Regions from separate parts of the Homo sapiens genome. Here regions 1 and 2 are each linked to region 3. Evidence: promoter capture Hi-C in 16 types of primary human blood cells and fetal thymus (Javierre and others, 2016). All regions are on one chromosome and are shown on one strand. Each heading gives the region's core, a stretch centred on a gene start or on the middle of the fragment in contact. The rest is flanking DNA. Distances are from core to core; before and after follow the strand shown. Region 1 overlaps TSC22D2 (TSC22 domain family member 2). Region 2 overlaps MED12L (mediator complex subunit 12L). Region 3 holds the start of MBNL1 (muscleblind like splicing regulator 1).

What was found. Contacts are between HindIII fragments. The CHiCAGO score rates a contact against its expected background, and 5 or more counts as called.
Region 1: a contact is called between a fragment that was not itself captured here and the fragment with the promoter of MBNL1 in region 3, in 1 of 17 cell types (naive B cells). The highest score is 6.5, in naive B cells.
Region 2: a contact is called between a fragment that was not itself captured here and the fragment with the promoter of MBNL1 in region 3, in 1 of 17 cell types (naive B cells). The highest score is 8.5, in naive B cells.

The regions. Positions count from the first base shown.
Region 1 is chr3:150,416,699-150,419,398 of GRCh38, reverse strand. The region is part of intron 1 of TSC22D2 (TSC22 domain family member 2); the gene reads right to left. Among named protein-coding and RNA genes, the nearest start is that of TSC22D2, 9.8 kb to the right of the region's middle. The HindIII fragment of the contact is 1,663 bases long and covers 614-2,276 here.
Region 2 is chr3:151,267,196-151,269,895 of GRCh38, reverse strand. All of the region lies in intron 16 of MED12L (mediator complex subunit 12L), which reads right to left. All of the region lies in intron 1 of P2RY14 (purinergic receptor P2Y14), which reads left to right. It also overlaps the pseudogene SETP11. Among named protein-coding and RNA genes, the nearest start is that of P2RY14, 10 kb to the left of the region's middle. RefSeq lists an enhancer at 979-1,048. The HindIII fragment of the contact is 157 bases long and covers 1,224-1,380 here.
Region 3 is chr3:152,267,659-152,270,358 of GRCh38, reverse strand. MBNL1 (muscleblind like splicing regulator 1) reads right to left here and starts at 1,430. Exons shown (of 10, transcript NM_021038.5): 1 at 1,267-1,430. MBNL1-AS1 (MBNL1 antisense RNA 1) reads left to right here and starts at 733. Exons shown (of 2, transcript NR_027038.1): 1 at 733-931; 2 at 1,287-2,700. RefSeq lists silencers at 983-1,092, 1,493-1,542, 1,593-1,652 and enhancers at 543-1,384, 1,843-1,942, 1,385-2,227. The HindIII fragment of the contact is 10,088 bases long and covers 1-2,700 here.

The DNA of each region.
Region 1 (2,700 bases), core at 196-2,695, 1.9 Mb after region 3:
AGGGTTACAATACAACAAATCAGTGGCTATGGTAGTTCTTCCTTCTTCCTAACTTATTGTGTGCCAAGTAATAAAACAAACTTCTAACTCTGGGAATATTCAAAAGCACTGGCTTTAGGTTAAAGGTCTGAATATGAGTCTAGGCTTTGTCACCCAATACCTAGGTGACTCAAATTTTAAGAGTCTCAGTTTCCTTAATCCATAAGAAAGGGGGAAGGGAAGAAACCACTTTCTTACAAATTGTTGGAAAGATCAAATGAAAGTCTATATACATAGGACCTGACACAAGTAAGCTTGCTTTGTGTTTAATATAAGGTTAGTTTCCAAATTATGCTACCTATAAATCAAATTTTGGTAGAGTATCTCAACATGTACCAAATGTTCTGACATTATCAAGGTAATATTGAGGGAAACAGAATACTTAAACTTAGAGCCAGGGGTACCAAAATATTTAGCACATTTCATTAGGTAAGAATTCTGATTTTTGGGACTCAGCGCTCTGAAGGTATTCCCTTAACACAGCTTTATCATAAGATTATAATTTAAAATGCAATAATCACTAAAAGGATACTGAAATCGTTTCAAGATATATATTATTTTAACAATAAAAGCTTCCAGAAATACCTTTAACAGCAACTTACTATAAAAATCGAAATTTCTTACCATGACATTTAAAGTCCTTCACTCTGGTTCTTGTCAAATTAACAATACCATTTTCCAAATGATAGATTCTCACTCTTTCACATCATTATACAAACTGCCTTTTACCTCTGCTTGGAAAACTATCCCCTTCTCTTCTTAGTGACTTAATCTGAATGACCATTTTAAGATTTAGTTCAAGAGTTAGCCTCAAAAGAATGTACAAGTAATAATGGGTTACTTCTAAGGACAAACAGGGTGGCTGGAGGACAGAGGTAGCAGAGAGGCTTTCGATTTTACTCTTTTATATATTTTGAGTTTTGAACTATATAAATACCTATGCAGAGAATAATTTTTAAATAGAAGTCAGTCTACTACCCTCCCAATCCCAATCTGATCTGATGTCTCAAATTGTTCCCATTAGCACCTTATATTACTCCATCACCACCTCCAATGTATGTCAAAGTATACATCTGATCATCATTTTCATGATGATGAAAATGCCTGAGATCTAGGAGGGCAGCATAGTCTCATATTTGTATTCCAGTGCTCACTACTCACAGAGCATCATGAAAGCTGAATGACTGATAAGCTGTTTTAAATGTTTTCTTGGGCAATCAACCTACTTAATGAGTATTTACAAACTTCATTTATTGCCACACAATAGTCAAGTGGCAGGAAAGGGGTAAAAAGAAGAAAGTTTAAGTTTGCAGTTCTCTCATGAAGCACACTTGAATGTATGGTCTCATATACATAAGGCTAGAAGGAATCTTAAAATTTGACAAAGTCTCAAAAAAGAAAAACAGACAAGTGAAATGACTTGACCAAAGAAACCAGCTAAATGATAGAAGAGCCAGGACTGGAACACAATTCCCTATACTTCTTACAACATCATGACTCGTCTAGACTAAAACATCATCTCCTTTTTTCTGACTACATCCATACCATACAATTACGCTTTCATATTAAAATGGAAGATTCTTGGTATGATTTATAACATGTAAAGGGGTGATCTGGGAGAGCAGTTTGGACACTGAAATATTAACATTTCTGTGATACACGTTTGCCACATATATTATGTTACAGACTGTTCAAATTACTTGCACACATCATTTAATTCCTTAAAACTCTCCCAGGTAGGTACAATCCCCATTTTTCATAAGAGGAAACAAGGCATCTACACCAACTAGCTCAAAGTCAAATGTAGCAGTTAGATTTTAGCCCGGGTATGTCTGACTCTACTGTCTCTGTAATGGTCATTCACATATGTTAACACATAATTAAACACGCTATTGGTTTTATTTGATCAAAACAGCTCCTCCCTCCTTTGTTTTGTCTTCAAAGACTAGGTAGACGGTATGCCAAGCAAAGATTTGTTTTGCTTTAACATATAAAACCACTTGATAAAAACTAAATACTAACTCTACTTTAGAAACTAGAGGCTTTACACTTACCTTTGGGAATCCTTTATTCAGATTAAATTATATACTTGTGTAATAAGATGAACAGCCTAAAACTAACATTTAAAACTATGCCATCATTATTTACAATAATTGACACATTAATCACAAACTCCATCTTCTACAAAGCAATATTCTTTAGACAAATTTTAGGAAAGGCTTATGGGAAAAGAAGCTTTAAGTAATTTAACATTTAGACTTTACTTATTTGTCCTGCCTACCCTAATAATAGGTATATGTCCCAGGCAAACACTAATAAAATTAACTCAGTTACCTGCAGAACTTTCACTAACATCACAAATAAATGTACTACTTAAAAGGATGGAAGCACTTTTTCTTTTTAAACAAAAATTAGCTTGGGTACAAAGGAATCAAACTAAATACTAAATACTAATTATTTAAGTCTGATTTGAGGCTTTAAATTTGAGATAAGCAATCCAGATGAAATTTAATTCACCTGATTTAAGAGCAGAAATCATGCAATACTTTCATACAGGAAACAATCCATCAATATACCTTTAATATTATTAAACCAAATCTGAAGAGTATACCTCAAAGTATACTTCCTAAAGTCATGGAATAATGTATAGGAATGGTGCAA
Region 2 (2,700 bases), core at 53-2,552, 1.0 Mb after region 3:
AACCAGGTAAAGAAGCTCTCTGGTTCTTCGTGCTGCCTCTTCCTGCTGACTTTACTCTGCGTTTGACTGGAACGTTTTCATTATATCCTTTCCAGATTTGCATTTGACTTCAGTGGACTCTAAAAATAGATCACCACTCTCATTCAGATGAAATTCCTTGGAGAGAACTTTATTTTCAAACTAAAGATTTTCATCAAAATAAAAATCTTTCTGTAACCTGATTTAATACCTCCAAATTCTGTCACTTCAACTCGTCAAATAATACAGTGCCTCTTTGTCTTCCTCCCCAAGTAATGTAGACACTTGTGGATGGCTGACAAATGCTGTTACCCAAAAATTTGAAATTTGGGCAATCAATTTTGACCTCTTCCAAAAAATGGTTGGCAGAATTTGTTATACTTCTGTTCTGCTTTCACAATCTCCCCACTGGCTTGTTCATTAAGTCTCTGAATTTTGTGTGTGTGTGTGTGTGTGTGTGTGTGTGTGTGTGTGTGTGTGATGGAGTTTCACTCTTGTTGCCCAGGCTGGAGTGCAATGGCACGATCTCAGGTCACTGCAACCTCCACCTCCCAGGTTCTAGTGATTCTCCTGCCTCAGCCTCCCAAGTAGCTGGGATTACAGGCATGCACCACCACACCTGGCTAATTTTGTATTTTTAGTAGAGATGGGGTTTCTGCATGTTGGTCAGGCTGGTCTCGAACTCCCGACCTCAGGTGATCCACCCACCTTGGCCTCCCAGAGTATAGGCATAAGCCACCGCGCCCAGCCTGTATTTCCTTTTGTACGTCGTCAATATATTCAATTGCTTCTTTCTGTTCTTTTTCTCCCTTCTTCAGCAAGCCCAGAGAGGCCAATGTCTCCTCCGGTCTCAGAGCAGGAAGTAGTCTTGGTTTTGGGGGTCACACCGCTAGGAAAGTTCAAGAACCAGACCACAATTCTTCTTTCTCGTCAGGAAGACGCTCAGAAAACTTAATTTTTTTTGTTTTGTGGCTAAAAAATTTTGCATACTAAAACCAACCGAAGGTTGGGAAGGTATTTTACATTTTCCTCTAGAAGCTTTGTGGTCTTAGTTTTACCTTTAGGTCTATGATACATCTTAAATTGCTTCCTTGATTCCTCCATTTCATCTGTTAGTAGCTCTCTGCAGAGAACAAGTGCTTTGTAAACACTGCTGACTCACTTATAAATGCCCTATAGGTTAGAAGAAATGTGTTTTCAAAGCTTACTAAAGGCTCTATGCTCAGCCTCAGTAACATTCTAGATTTAAAAAACCACTAATGGGAATGAACTCACAAATTAGACAAAATTTGAAACAAATTAGGCAAAATTTGACAAAATGTCTAACTCACAAATTAGACAAAATGGAGAAACCTGGAAGCTTCCATTTAGAACTCATGTTATGGTTCTGCCTAGGACATGCCTTGACTAGGGCAGGGATAATCCAGTTTCATTTCTGTACAAATAGCAGTTTAACTCAGCACAGAAAATGGAGAGCAGTATGCTCACCATATTTTCTTCCTCTTTGTATATATGTTAGAAAATTACCATGTCATTAGCATAGACTGAATTCTTTTTAACAAATTAGGCCATAAAACAGTAATTCACAGCAGCTCTGTTGAAAACTGACTTATATATATATATAAGTAATAAATGTTACAAGATATTACTCTCAAGAGACATTTTCTATACCCTAAAACACTGGCATTATTTTATAGGATTTAGGTAGCTTTAAAAAATGTTTTATTAATGCTTTGTATTGAAAACATGTAAGCTGAAAACATAAAAAGAAGTATTCCCACTGTTTAAAGACTACCACCGATGCATATTAAAACAGAGCATTTCCAGCTATTTCCTTGAGACTTTACTAAGAACGCATAAGACTAAAAAGAGCAAAAATTACCCTTGTCCATTTTACTGGCATTTGGAGAAATTCATAAATTAGGATAATAGCGCATTTCTTAAGTACTTAGCAACTGATAAAATACTCTACGTACAAAGAAATTTTAAAAAGCTATTCTCAAACACTGTATTTTGACAGCTGTTTCCTTGATATTATTCAGCCAAAACATGCTCCATGTTTTAGCAAGGTTCCTTTCTTATTACTCTGCCTTAGTGCCTAAGTTTCTACACCACAATTAGGCAATTCTTTTTAATGAATTAGGCCATAAAACAGTAATTCACAGCAGCTCTGTTGAAAACTGACTTATATATATAAGTAATACATGTTACAAGATATTACTCTCAAGAGACATTTTCTATAGCCTGAAACACTGGCATTATTTTATAGGATTTAGGTGGCTTTAAAAAAATGTTTTAAATTCATAGGAAAACTATTTACATCTAAGCAAGGACCGAGGCTCTCATTTGTAGCTTGCACTTTTCTGTTTTTAACAATTACCCAGATTCACAAGCTAACATTTCAGGGATAATCAATAGTGGCTTAGAATTTAGGGTGAAAAAAGAGAAAGTAACATATAACCTTGATATTGTTTCTTTCTAAAAAGAAAAGGGGATTTGTGATTAGCTACTTAAATTTGATTACATTATACACTTAAATTCCTTTTCTCATGAAGTATTTCAATGACTACCATTTCCTTAATAGCACTTCATTATTGTTATGCCTTTCTAAATGACAATGTACAATCCTTTTCACAGCCAAAGGTCAAAAAGAATAAAGAAAGCAAAAATCTCCCAGTAAGG
Region 3 (2,700 bases), core at 181-2,680:
GCACGCTGCAGAGGGCTCGAAAGTCTAAAAGCATTAATTATGACTTCTCTCCTAGCGTATTAATTTAAGAAACTCCTCAGAGTATATGGCAGAGTTTGCCATCCATCTGCTATGACTTGTGCCTGTGCTGGTGGGCACACAAAGTGAAGTCAGCGGCAACAACCTTTCCGGCAGCTTCTTAACTTTAATCCTGGGGAGACATACTCCACGGAAATACACCCCAGAATCCCAACAGCCGCATACTCTCCCGGCCCCAGAGAGCCTTAAGAATACAATATTACTCTGGCAGCAACACCCCTGTAGTTGTAAAGTGCTGTGCGAGGGGAAGGCATAAGCGCCACCATATACCTGCTCGTGTTACAGGCTCTGGAATCAAAGTATTCTCACATGACACATTACTACCAATAACAGATTCCGGCTCCGTTTAAAAAAAAAAAAAAAAGTTGGGGGGTGGCTACATATTTGTCCTGCTTTTGTCTAAAAACCAGAACCCAAGTACTAACTACTTTTCATTCTTTTCAACCTTTCATGAAAGCAATTCAACCAACTGCGGCTCCACCCAAAGAGCTTCTATACTTACTTTTCTTACAGTTTTTGAGTGACGCACTACAAAACGATGAAAAAAAAAAGAAGAAGAAGAAAAGGAGGAGGCAGCCCTCTCCTACAGGGCGTCTTCCGCCCTGTAAACTTGGCAAAAGGCAAACTGGCCTGAAATACAGCACTCTCCATATAAGGCAGCCCAGCTAAACATGTCATGCGTAATTTATGGGTAGCAAGCAGAGAATTAACCTTTGCGTGCACATATTTGGCCCAGATGAAAACCGGGCGGGATGGCAGCCCCGGGGCCAGGGATGCGGGAGCCGCCGGGAAGACCCGCGCGCCGCTCGACTCAGAGGGACTCACACCTTCCCCCGACAAAGGTCATTAAGTTGTGAGTACACTTGCACGCACCTGTTTCTCTTCTCGCCCCCCTGTTTCTCCCTGGGTCCCGCTGGGCTGCCAAGCCGTGCGCGGGCTGTGCCGTGACAGCGTCCGCAGAGCCCGCGGCAGGGAAGGGCGCAGGAGCGGCTGCGGCTCACCCTCCCGCCTTCCCCCGGGCAGGAGGTGCTGAGGGACGCGAAACCAACTACCGCGAGCGGCCCGCCCCTGCCCGGGAGAACCGCGGCCGGCGAGCACCTCCTCGCACTTCCTCCTTCAGCCACGGGCAGACCCGCCGGAGTCCGAACAATGAAGCGGCGCGGGGAAACTGTGAAAATGGAAACTTACCTCTCACATTTTTTTTTCAGAGGCGGCCCCACTGTCGACCAAGTGCCCAAGGCATTGTGGGAGTCATGATTCCAAGATGCCCGCGACGGAAAATGGAACTTGTCAGCTCCTTGTCATGGGAGCATTGTGGGCGCCACAACTCATTCAGCTGCAGTGAAAAGACTGTTGCATGTCGCTGTGCAGCCTCTTATCGCCGAGGTCTGGCTTCCGCTGCTGCTGCGCGGCCCCTCCCCCGCCCGCCCAGCCCCACCAGGAAGCCCAGGGCGGACTCGTCGAGCTCCTAATGCACGCGGCGGCGAGAAAAACGCTCTTCAACTTTCCGCCGGCGCCCTCCCGCGCTTCCCCGGGCCACAGGGTCGCCTGTCAACCGGACAGAGCCCGCAAGAGCGGGTCATGGGCGGTCGCCCAGCGGCGCCGAGAGCAGGAGGAAGCCGGAGCCCGCGCGGGCGCCGTGGATCCCCTCGGCCTCCCGTTGGTATCTTCCATCTCATGCGTTCAGCATTGTAACCTCGCGGCGGGCGTGCAGACCGGACGCCCTCCCGCTTCTTCTACCGACTGCTAGGCACACCAGTGGGTTCATTTTGAAAGAGGCCCTTGCACCGGGCTTTGCAAGGAAGCCGGCAAGGTTAGATTGAAGGTTAGAAGCCAATTAGACTAGAATCCTGCGATCTGGTGAGACTGCCGCCTTAAAATGCACCAAACAGTTTTTGAACCTGGAGGGCTAACAGGCGGGAAAAACATCTGCAAGACTGCCACCGTGTATTTTTCTCAAGTAACAGGCTATCCACAGTTTTGGAATTCCTTAGTGAAACTGTCACACAGGCACAAACACATGTCAGCTTTCCTTCTAGTTTGTAAATAATATTTGTAATTTACAGGCCACTGTATTCCCAACTTTGCACCATGTGATTTAGAGAAAGCAAAGCTCCCTCTTTAAAAATAATATGTTACTTCTGAAATACCGGGATATTCCACGGCAAGTAAGCCATATTGTCGCCAGAGCAAATAAACCGCAGCCCCATATCATAATTCACTGGGTGCTATAAGATGTAACTTGGCTTTGCTTTGAATGGAAAGAATCCTGAACGTCTGTGATGTGATGAAGTTTTGGAGACTGGGGGCAGGATTTCCTTTGAATGTAAGGAATTCGGATAACTTGTTCAAGGATGATTCTAGTGAAAAACGTTTGTCCCATGTTTGTTGGGACAAAAATGCTGGATATGGTACAACATTCTTCCTGCAGGTTCGGTTTTGTTGAAGAGAGTGAGGCCAGCTCGAGGTGAAGGAAAAACATCAGAAAGGTGCTAAAGTGCAGAAATATCTTCCAGAGGCACTAATAGCCGACTTTAGTTCTTGACCTTTAGCTAGATCCACAAAGCACTGAGTTAAAATTGTACACTGATCCCTTCCAGAACAAATTAATTAATTAAATGG